3 separate regions of the Homo sapiens genome follow, and all the other regions are linked to region 1. Evidence: promoter capture Hi-C in 16 types of primary human blood cells and fetal thymus (Javierre and others, 2016). All regions are on one chromosome and are shown on one strand. Each heading gives the region's core, a stretch centred on a gene start or on the middle of the fragment in contact. The rest is flanking DNA. Distances are from core to core; before and after follow the strand shown. Region 1 holds the start of PPP6R3 (protein phosphatase 6 regulatory subunit 3). Region 2 holds the start of CHKA (choline kinase alpha). Region 3 holds the start of NDUFS8 (NADH:ubiquinone oxidoreductase core subunit S8).

Region 1 (3,437 bases), core at 400-2,899:
GGACTACAGGCGCCCGCCACTGCGCCCGGCTATTTTTTTTTTCTTTTTGTATTTTTAGTAGAGACGGGGTTTCACCGTGTTAGCCAGGATGGTCTCGATCTCCTGACCTCGTGATCCACCCGCCTCCGCCTCCCAAAGTGCTGGGATTACAGGCGTGACCGCGCCGTGACCTCCTGTGGATTTTCATGGGACTCTGAGAGGCGCCTCAAATCCATTTTGGAATAAGGCAGGTTATTAGCATGGGGTCTAACCGTGGGCTGTCTCGGTGTCCTGGGCTGGCTCTTGGGGCGGGGGTCCTGATGTCCGGGACCTCGGTCCTACCTGGGAGGCACAGATATGGCGGGGAACGGGAAGCCCGGGGGAGCATTTAGAAGCTCGTGTGCACAGGGAAACCCTGTCTCTACAAAAAAATTAAATTAGCGGGGCCCAGTGGTGCGTGCCTATGGTCCCAGCTACTCGGGAGGCTGAGGTGGGGGGACTGCTTGAGCCCAGGAGGTGGAGGCTGCAGTGAGTCATGATCACCCCACTGCACTCCAGCCTGGACAACAGAGCAAGACCTTGTCTCAAAAAAGACCCCAGGCCAGGCGCGGTGGCTCACCCCTATAACCCCTGCACTTTGGGAGGCTGAGGTGGGCGGATCACCTGAGGTCAGGAGTTCGAGACCAGCCTGGCCAACATGGTGAAACACCCGTCTCTTCTAAAAATACAAAAATTAGCCGGGCATGGTGGCGTGCACTTGTAATCCCAGCTACACGGGAGGCTGAGACAGAACTGCTTGAACCTGGGAGGCGGAGGTTGCAATGAGCTGAGGTCGCACCACTGCACTCCAGCCTGGGGGACAACAGGGAAACTCCGTCTCAAACAAAACCAAACCCCAAAAGTTCTCGTCTAAGTCCTTCTCCCAGGACAAGGGCACTTATCTCTTGGCGGTGCGTCACAGGTAGGGATATTCCGCGATCCCTCACCTTGACCCCGCTACGAGGACAGCCACCTCTTTCAGGTAAAGAGATCGCAATGGGAAATCATTCTGATAAAAATTCCCCTGTGGAGAATGCAGGCATCGATCCCGTTACCTCTCACATACTAAACGAACGCTCCTCCACTTAAGCTGATTCCCTAGCCCGGCCTAACCTTTGCAGCCGGCGCATATTGTGGCTCACGTCACCACCGGTGTCCCCCGCCGCCCCCGCCCCGCCCGGCCAGCTCGCCACCCTATTGGATCCCTCACGGCTCCGGCTCCACGGCCATGATGGGCTTGGCTCAATTTAGTTTTAAAAAGCATTGGCCACTCGGATTGGTGGTCCGAAGCGTCCGTCAAGCGGAGGACCTGCTGTTGCTACGGCGTAGGGGGTCCCAGCCAGGTTTCTCCCCGTTTCTGATTTGTTTCTCAGGCTCCGGGGTCCTAGAGGTTCCGGATCCGTCAAGTCCATGGGAAAAGAATGCGCCCCTCGCGCTTGACTGACGAGGCTTGCGGGCCAATCGGAATGTAGTCAAAGGAGCCGCTAGGCGATCCAATAGGTAGTAGGGGGCGGGAGAGAGGGGCCAATGAGCCTGGAGCTGGGGGCGGGGGCAGGGCCGCGATTGGCTGAGAGGCGGCCAGAGGGCGGGCGGGGGGGAACTCAAGGCCTGCTTGATACGTCCGCCATTTTGGGCGCTTCGCTGATGGTGTCGGTGAGCGCGTTTCCCGCCTGAGCGCAACTAGCGGCGGGTCGTGGGCACCTCCAGGTAATGGGGGTAGGGGAGGCGCCGGAGCAGGCCGCGGCGCGGGGTGTGCGAGGCGCGCGGGCAGGCGCGGGGCCCCTCCACCTGGCCTCAGCGGCTCAGGGAGGGAACGTCCCGGCCCCTCTCCCCTCCCCCCCCGGAATTCGTCGCTCCGCGGGCCCGGGAGGCGCGGCGCCGAGTCCTTCCCGGCCGCTCCCCGTCCGCTCCTGTTAGCCGGGGGCCCCGCCAGGACGGGCGCCGGGAGCGGGACGCGGTCGGGGCGGCGACTTTGTGCCTCGTTGACGTTCGCGGCCTGGCGCGGCGGGCGGGCGAGGCGCGCCCCTGACCCGGCTCTGGCTCCAGCCTTCCCGCCCGCCGGCCGCGGCCCGCAGTCTCGCCCCCCGCCCGGCCCGCGCCCGGTCTCCGCTCCCGCTGGGCCTCCCGGGGGCCTCGGGGAGCGCGTCAAGTTGAGGCAGCAACTCGCCGTCAAGAGTCGCGAAGACCATTGTTGGACTCTGCTCTTCGGGAAACAAGTTTTGTGGGTTTCTGTTAATTCGCCGCAGAGTCATCGGGATCCACACCAGCCAGTTCCGAGGCTCCCAGTACCCTTCCCAGTGGCTTTTTAACTCCTGTGAGGTGGCTTGTATGTAAACTGTCTCGAATGCCTCCCTGGTGTATTTGAGCCGGGGGTGGGGGGGGTGGGTGGTCCTTCTTGTGGCTTGAAGTCCCTCCCTCTTAAAGAAGCCCATTCACTGTTTACTTGGAGGTGTTTCCTGTTGAGGTCCTGCTGGCTGTGATCACAATTTAGACTTTTTAATTATAGGTGAACGGGATGGGTCTTTGGATGTACCTCCGTGCCCTGACGTTTCAACCGCGTGACTTAATGTCATTTTCCTGGTACTTCACGTTTTCTCTGTGGGGCTTTGGGTCTGTTTTGCTTTTATGGGAGGGGGTGCTTGACAGGCGTTCCCTTTCATCCTCGCAGCACTTGTTGACGGGGTGGTGTCCTTTATTCGTGGGACGTTTACTTTGATTTTGTCCTCAAGGTCATGTTGCAGATAGGCTTCAAGGGGGACAGGGACTCCAGGTTTCCAACCACCGAACTGTGCCTCAAGTAGCAAGTGTATGAGACCCAGTTATGGTGGTGGTTGGGTTTTCCTCACTGTGGAGTGGAGTCAGTGACCACTTTTTAGCTCTGTGACCTTGGGCAAGTTACCCAGCTTCTCTTTTTTTTTCTCTGTAGTATGGGAATAATAATAAGTGTCCCAGCCATAAGTTTGTCAGGATAATTGCCCTAATACATGTAAAACAGCTAGAGCTGTGCCTGGCACATACAGTCACCTCAGTGGCTGATTAGTGGTTAGGCTAGTTAATGGCTATTATTGTTTAATTTAAATTTGATTTTTAAATGTTTAGGTACTATTGGGAAGTCAGATGAGCATTTGAGTCCCGACTCTTGGTGACTGCCTTTAGAAAGCTCTGTGTAAGACTCAGTTGGGCTGAAAAAGTAAAACTATAAGTTATTTTAATTTTTTCAGGACAGGGTTTTTGACCATTCCTTAAATTAGGAACATTTACCGGAGTAATTAATGAGTAGTAGCGCCTCATAATGTTTAAAGAGATGGTTAAATACAGAAAAGCCCATCACAAGCTTAAGTCGGGCTTTGTTCCTCATGTGCTTTTGGATACTAGTTTCTGGGTGACTGCCACCCGAATCAGTAACTAGGGTTTCTTAG
Region 2 (3,447 bases), core at 675-3,174, 340 kb before region 1:
GGAACACGTTCTTTGTTTTTGTTTTTTTGAGACAGTCTCTCTCTGTCAAAGGCTGGAGTGCAGTGGCGTGATCTCGGCTCACTGCAACCGCCGCCTCCCAGGTTCAAGCGATTCTCCTGCCTCAGCCTCCCAAGTAGCTGGGACTACAGGTGTGCGCCACCATGCCCAGCTAATTTTTGTATTTTTAGTAGATATGGGGTTTCACCATGTTGGCCAGGCTGGTCTCGATCTCCCGACCTCGTGACCCGCCCACCTTGGCCTCCCAAAGTGCTGGGATTACAGGCGTGAGCCACTGCGCCCGGCCCGGGAACACATCTTTAAAGGTCTCAATAGAAGGATGCACACACTACGTTGAATGGTTATGTCTTCGGAGCAGAGTGGTGAAAGAAGGTCAGACTTCTGTTAAGTCTGAATACCTACACGCGTACTTCTGTAATTCAAATTTAAGATTAAATATTTTCAAGTTTAAAAAAAGGAAAAAATGGCCGAGCGCGGTGGCTCATGCCTGTAATCCCAACATTTTGGGAGGTCGAAGCGGGTGGATCACCTGAGGTCGGGAGTTCAAGATCAGCCTAACGAACATGGAGAAACCTTGTCTCTACTAAAAATACAAAATTAGCCGGGCGTGGTGGCGTGTGTCTGTAATCCCAGCTACTCGGGAGGCTGAGGCAAGGAGAATCGCTTGAACACGGGAGGCCGTGGTTGCAGTGAGCCGAGGTCGCGCCACTGCACTCCAGCCTGGGGACCAAGAGCGAAACTCCGTCTCAAAAAAAAAAAAAAAAGGAAAAAACATTTCTACCTTACTCTTATTTTAGGAGCCACGCCTCCCACCTTTGTCTAGTAACACAGCTATAGTGATGTCTCTTAGGGGATGAGAAAATGCTACTCCTCCACTAACAATGACTCTTGGAGAGGGAACAAGACATCAAATCGCGAACTCGAAAAACTAACAGAAAAAAGTTAAAAAGTGGTTTGTGTTTTTAAAGCCAGCCACAACACCTTCATTCAAGGCCCTAAACCGCAGAGACTTTCTAGACCTATCTTAAGCGTCAGTACCACACGCACTTCGTGATGGAACGGTATTGTTCTCCTAGAACAGACCCGTTTTCTCATGAAACCGACGTTTTTACAAAAGCCTGTTTGTGGACGGCCTGCGGCGGCCGCGAACCCGCTTCCCTTGGATTACCCAGGGCTGGGAGAAGGAGGGCTTTCGCCGGCTGCGGTCCCCGGTCCCCGGCCTCCGCCCCGGCCCCGGCTCCCCCGGCCCCCGACCCCCCCGGCCCACGCCCCCTGCCCGGACCCCGCCCCGGCCCCGCCCCGCGTCACCTGACTGTCCCGCGGCCCCCAGACCCGGCGCCACCGACCTGATGACACTGATGTGGAACTCGTCCTCGCGGAGGCCCCGCCAGGCGCCGGGCAGGAACTCCTTGCACCACAGATAGGCCCTGCGCCGCGTCCGGGGCTCCGGCTGCTCGTCTGCGGGCGGCTGCGGCGGCGGGGGCTGGGGCAGCGGCAGCGGCAGCGGCAGCGGCGGCGGAGGGGGCAGCGCGAGCGGCGGCTGTTGGCCGCCCAGCTGCTTGGACTCGAGGTCGCTGGCGGCGTCGCGCTGCTGCCCCACGCCGGGCGCCGGGGCCGCGCTGCCGCTACCGCAGCTCAGCAGCAGCCCGAGCGGCGAGGGCTCCGCCTCGCCCCCGGTGCAGAATTTGGTTTTCATGCCCGACAGGCGGCCGAGGAGGCGCGGGCGGCCGCAGCGCGAGAGGACTAGGCTCAGAGTCCGGCCGGGCGCCCCCTCGCCGCTCTCTCACTGGCAGGCCGGCGGGGCAGGGGGCCGCGGCGGTTGGGCGCGCGGGGCGGCGGCGGCGGCTGCGGCGACTGCGGCGACTGTGGAGCGGGGATGTGCTGCTGGCCGCTGCACTCGCTCCTCTGCCGCCGCCGCACGAGGAGCGCCGGCCGCGTCACAGCCCGCCCTCGCGCTCGCCACTGATTGGCCGCCGTCCGCCGGCCCGGCGCATCATAACCGCCGCCGCCCTCGCCACACCGCCTCCCCATTGGCTGCGGCGCCGCCCCCAACCCAGAGCGCTGCGGCCTCCGTGAGCGGGGCCTGGGCGAAGGGGGCGGGGCGTCGAGGGGGCGCCCCGGCGGTCGCAGGGAAGGGGGAGAGGGGAGCGAGGCGCGGGGGGCGCCGGGAGAGCGCCTCCGCGGTGGGACGGAGCCGGACTGGGCCGAGCGAGGGAGGCTCCTGAGCCTCGGAGGACCCCGGGGTTGGCTTTGGGAGCTGAAAGTTTCCTTGGACCCCTCGGAAGCCCCGTGACATCAGAGGCCGGGCCTGGCAGGGGCAGGCAGGAAACGTGTCTGGAGGCTACTGCCCTCTCCGCGTGACCTTGGGCGAGCAGCCTCCTCCTGGGGCTCAGTGGGTGTGATTTTGTAACATTTCCCAGCGCTGCCACAGGCGCGTCTCGCCCTGTCCAACGCGGAGCCCGAAGAATTACTAAGAAACCGAGGTCTGAAGGAGGGAAGAGGTGACGGGCTCGAGGCCACACGGTGGGCCAGGCTGGGCCCGGCTGCACGCCGGCTACCGGGGCCCAGCCCTCTGCACGCCTCCCGCAGCCTCAGTTTCCCTGTCCGTGGTACTGAGGATGCTCGGGCCTAGAAGTTCAGGGCTGGAGGCCCAGGGACCGTCGAGGGAGGGGCATCATCCCCGCCATGGGGCCGCCGCAACTGCCCAGAGCACAGGCCAAAGGTGCGTGCCACGGGGCTACTGGCGTTGTGGACGCTGCCCCTGCCTCCCCATCCCCCGCAGGAAACAGCCTTGTGACCGTGACTAACGCACCTTTGCCGGGGTAGAGGGGCAAGGGCCCCTGCTACCGTTTGCCACACACTGCCCCATGTCCCTCACTGCTCCCGTCCTTCCTAGAAGTGAGGTGCTGATACATATAAAAATTATGGATCCCATTTTATGGGACATGAGCTGAAACAGGAGGTTTCCTGGGCTGCCAGGGGCTTAGGAAATCCAGTGCCTGATACACAGGAAATGCTTCTATGTGGGGAGTTCACAGTCTTCCAGAAGCAAAAATGTTTTTTGGTTTTTTTTTTGAGACGGAGTCTTGCTCAGTCGCCCAGGCTGGAGTGCAGTGGCACGATCTCGGCTCACTGCAACCTCCGCCTCCCGGGTTCACGCCATTCTGCTGCCTCAGCCTCCCGAGTAGCTAGGACTACAGACGCCCGCCACGACGCCTGGCTAATTTTTTTTTTTTTTTTTTTTTTTTTTTTGTATTTTTAGTAGAGACGGGGTTTCATCGTGTTAGCCAGGATGGTCTCGATCTCCTGACCTCGTGATCCGCCCGCCTCGGCCTCCCAAAGTGCTGGGATTACAGGAGTGAGCCACCGCGCCCGGCCGCAAAAATCTTTTAGAGTGTGTACTTGGCTGAACTTGCTCCACGCAAAATG
Region 3 (2,700 bases), core at 46-2,545, 430 kb before region 1:
GCAGGAATCCCCGCAGGCATCCACGCAGGAATCACCTGATGAAGGGCCAGGGTCAGGTGTGGGCCACCATCCCAAGACCTCCCTTCTCTCTAGGGCCAGCCCCTCTCCTCTGAGCACCTGCTGACCAGCCCAAAGCCCTCTCCACTCCTCAGCTTGAACTCCCCCAGGGTCTCCCTGTGGCCCACAGGTCCTTTGGAGGCTCGGGCATCTGCATGCAAATCCCAAACCACTGTCCCCTTTGCACACACTGAGCCTGCCCTTGTCCTCGTCCTGGTCTACCATGCGTGTCCTCCCTCTGCACGGGCATGGGACATGCCCTCTGCCTCCTTCCTGTCCTGGCCTGCCCAACTCCTACCTACCCTCAGCGCAGATCCTCCCAACACACACATGCAGGCAGCCTCGGGGCCTCTGCGGGTCCCTCTACCACAGCATTCCCGGGGAAAGGCCCGGCGTGGTGGCTCACGCCTGTAATCCCAGCACTTTGGCAGGCCGAGGCAGGAGGATCGCCTGAGTCCAGGAGTTCCAGACCAGCCTGGGCAACATGGCGAGACCCCGTCTCTACAAAAAATACAAAAATTAGCCGAGCCTGGTGGTGGCAGGCGACTGTGGTTCCAGCTGCTCGGGAGGCTGAGAAGTGAGGATCACCCGAGCCTGGGAGGTCGAGGCTGCAGTGAGCCGAGATCGCACCACTGCATTCCAGCCTGAGCCACAGAGCCAGATTGTCTCAAAAAAAGAAAAAAAAAAAAAAAAAAAAAAAAATTCGCTGGTAGGAAACATAGGCTGGTTGAGTACGGGAGTCATACAGATCAGGTGGATCAGGCGGCCGCACACCGCAGCTCTACGGCCCGGGAACGTTACTAAATACTCCCATGCCTCAGCTTCCCGCCTTAACGTGGTAACACGTTACTGTAGTTTCTCCACGCAGAGCTGCTGTGAGGATTAAAAGAGGCCGCGTGAGTTGAGCATCTCGTCGCCATTACCGTCATCACACGCCCCCCACCCAACCCGGCGGGCCCACCCTCTGCACCCACGGCGAAAGCACTCTTTCTAAACCACGCCCCGGATGTCCCGCCTCCAGCGGCTCGGAGGTCTTCACTTATTGGCCTCCCCAAACCAACATGGCGGCCCCCTACAAACTTCAAGCGCCGGTCTCTCCTAGCCAATCAAAAGAAAGATATTTCTGAATCCCGCCTCTTTCAGCAGCCTTGCTGGCCAATCAGACCACACCATGAAGCATCAATACAGAAAAGGGGGAACCCGCTGGCCCAATGGCAGCGTCCTACAGTGTAGCCTCCGCCTCCCGATTGACTGGCCTGCTTGGCAAGGCAAGTAGCGGCGGCGCTTCAAGGTGGGTGTTCACGTTTTGGCCGTGAAAGTCGGGCTTGGGCAGCGTGGCGTCGGGGGCGAGTGTGGTGTCCCCGTTGGCGCCGCCAGCTCTGCGCCTGGGCTTCCCCTCGGCTCACTCAGGATCCGCGGCCTCCGTGTCCTTCAGGTGCAGCGGGGAGCCGGCTCTCAGGGCGCATGCGCCGCCCGCTCTGCGCCACCGGCCTAGTTAGGGTCGGAGATCACTGGGAAGGTGGGGAAGGTGCTGGGTTGGGTCCCTGGAACTGCAGTCAGTGATCCAAAGGAGTGGGCCTGTTAGGGGGTTCACAGGTCGTGGGATGAGCTCTTATGAGCGCCGGCTAAGTGCCGGGCTCTGGGGTGCCCTTGGCATGTACGGGCTCCCCTAATTCCCAAGACCAACCGCCCCCAACCCACTTCATAGGTGAGAAGACGGAGGTCAGGTCACATCATCTGCCCAAGGTCACGCGGCAGGCTGGGGGACAGTTCCAGGAGGGCCTTGAAGCTGGGGAAAGGAATGTGGTACCGAGGACTGTTCAGGCCTTGAAGAGTTTCCAGCAGGGCAGGGCTGGGTTCCGATCCTCGGCCCACCTCCTTATCGTGTGACTTCCGACAAGTCACTTTTTTATCTTTTTTTTGAGACAAGGTCTCACTCTGTCGCCCAGGTTGGAGGGCAGTGGTGCAGTCTGGGCTCACTGCAACTTCTGCCTCCTGGGTTCAAGCGATTCTCCTACCTCAACCTCCCGAGTAGCTGGGATTATAAGTGCCCACCACCACACCTGGCTAATTTCTGTATTTTTTGGTAGGGACGGGGTTCCACCATGTTAGCCAGGCTGGTCTCAAACTCCTGACCTCAGGTGATCCACCTGCCTCAGCCTCCCAAAGTGCTGGGATTACAGGCGTGAGCCACCACACCCAGCCCTAGCGAGTCACTCAACAAACTGAGTCCCAGCGCCTTATTTGTGCCTCCCTCGTGGAGTCCTTGTAAGGATAGGATGGCAGCGCTTTCCACCCCTGGGCACGGTTCCTGGGGGAGGAGAGCTAACAAAGTTCGCTCTCAGTGCATGCTGGCGGGGGCTGGTAATGTTGTTTTTGGTTAGATTTGGGGAGGATGAAGGGAGGAGCAGAAAGGTGGGAAACAGGATCTCTGGGAGGGAGAAAGGAAGGATGGATTTAAAAGGTTTCTTAGGTGAGGCAGAACTTGGGGTCCACAGAAACTGAATTGTAGCTCAGCCAAGCTGAATCAGATGGAAAGCTGGGAGGCGCTGGGAACAGGAAAGCCATCTGTGCCTCTGACAGCAATGGGGTGCGAGTAGAGGGCAAAGTGACACATGTCAGTGGAGACTTGGGATCCTTGCG

The links. Contacts are between HindIII fragments. The CHiCAGO score rates a contact against its expected background, and 5 or more counts as called.
Region 2: a contact is called between the fragment with the promoter of CHKA here and the fragment with the promoter of PPP6R3 in region 1, in 5 of 17 cell types (total B cells, M0 macrophages, fetal thymus and 2 more). The highest score is 12.2, in total B cells.
Region 3: a contact is called between the fragment with the promoter of NDUFS8 here and the fragment with the promoter of PPP6R3 in region 1, in 10 of 17 cell types (total B cells, naive B cells, neutrophils and 7 more). The highest score is 12.4, in total B cells.

Annotation. Positions count from the first base shown.
Region 1 is chr11:68,459,103-68,462,539 of GRCh38, forward strand. PPP6R3 (protein phosphatase 6 regulatory subunit 3) reads left to right here and starts at 1,650. Exons shown (of 24, transcript NM_001164161.2): 1 at 1,650-1,725. RefSeq lists silencers at 1,061-1,210, 1,521-1,890, 1,901-1,950, 2,001-2,110 and an enhancer at 1,321-1,380. The HindIII fragment of the contact is 4,553 bases long and covers 1-3,350 here.
Region 2 is chr11:68,119,464-68,122,910 of GRCh38, forward strand. It overlaps CHKA (choline kinase alpha), which reads right to left and starts at 1,925. Exons shown (of 12, transcript NM_001277.3): 1 at 1,365-1,925. The coding sequence starts at 1,714. CHKA-DT (CHKA divergent transcript) reads left to right here and starts at 2,425. Exons shown (of 4, transcript NR_183630.1): 1 at 2,425-2,740. RefSeq lists enhancers at 1-224, 650-779, 920-1,049, 1,898-2,663, 2,664-3,430 and silencers at 1,200-1,329, 1,900-2,329, 2,680-2,779. The HindIII fragment of the contact is 18,960 bases long and covers 1-3,447 here.
Region 3 is chr11:68,029,386-68,032,085 of GRCh38, forward strand. NDUFS8 (NADH:ubiquinone oxidoreductase core subunit S8) reads left to right here and starts at 1,296. Exons shown (of 7, transcript NM_002496.4): 1 at 1,296-1,348. It overlaps GLTC1 (glycolysis associated regulator of LDHA post-transcriptional modification 1), which reads right to left and starts at 1,049. Exons shown (of 4, transcript NR_197583.1): 1 at 908-1,049; 2 at 1-35. RefSeq lists enhancers at 1,037-1,331, 1,323-1,502. The HindIII fragment of the contact is 7,666 bases long and covers 1-2,700 here.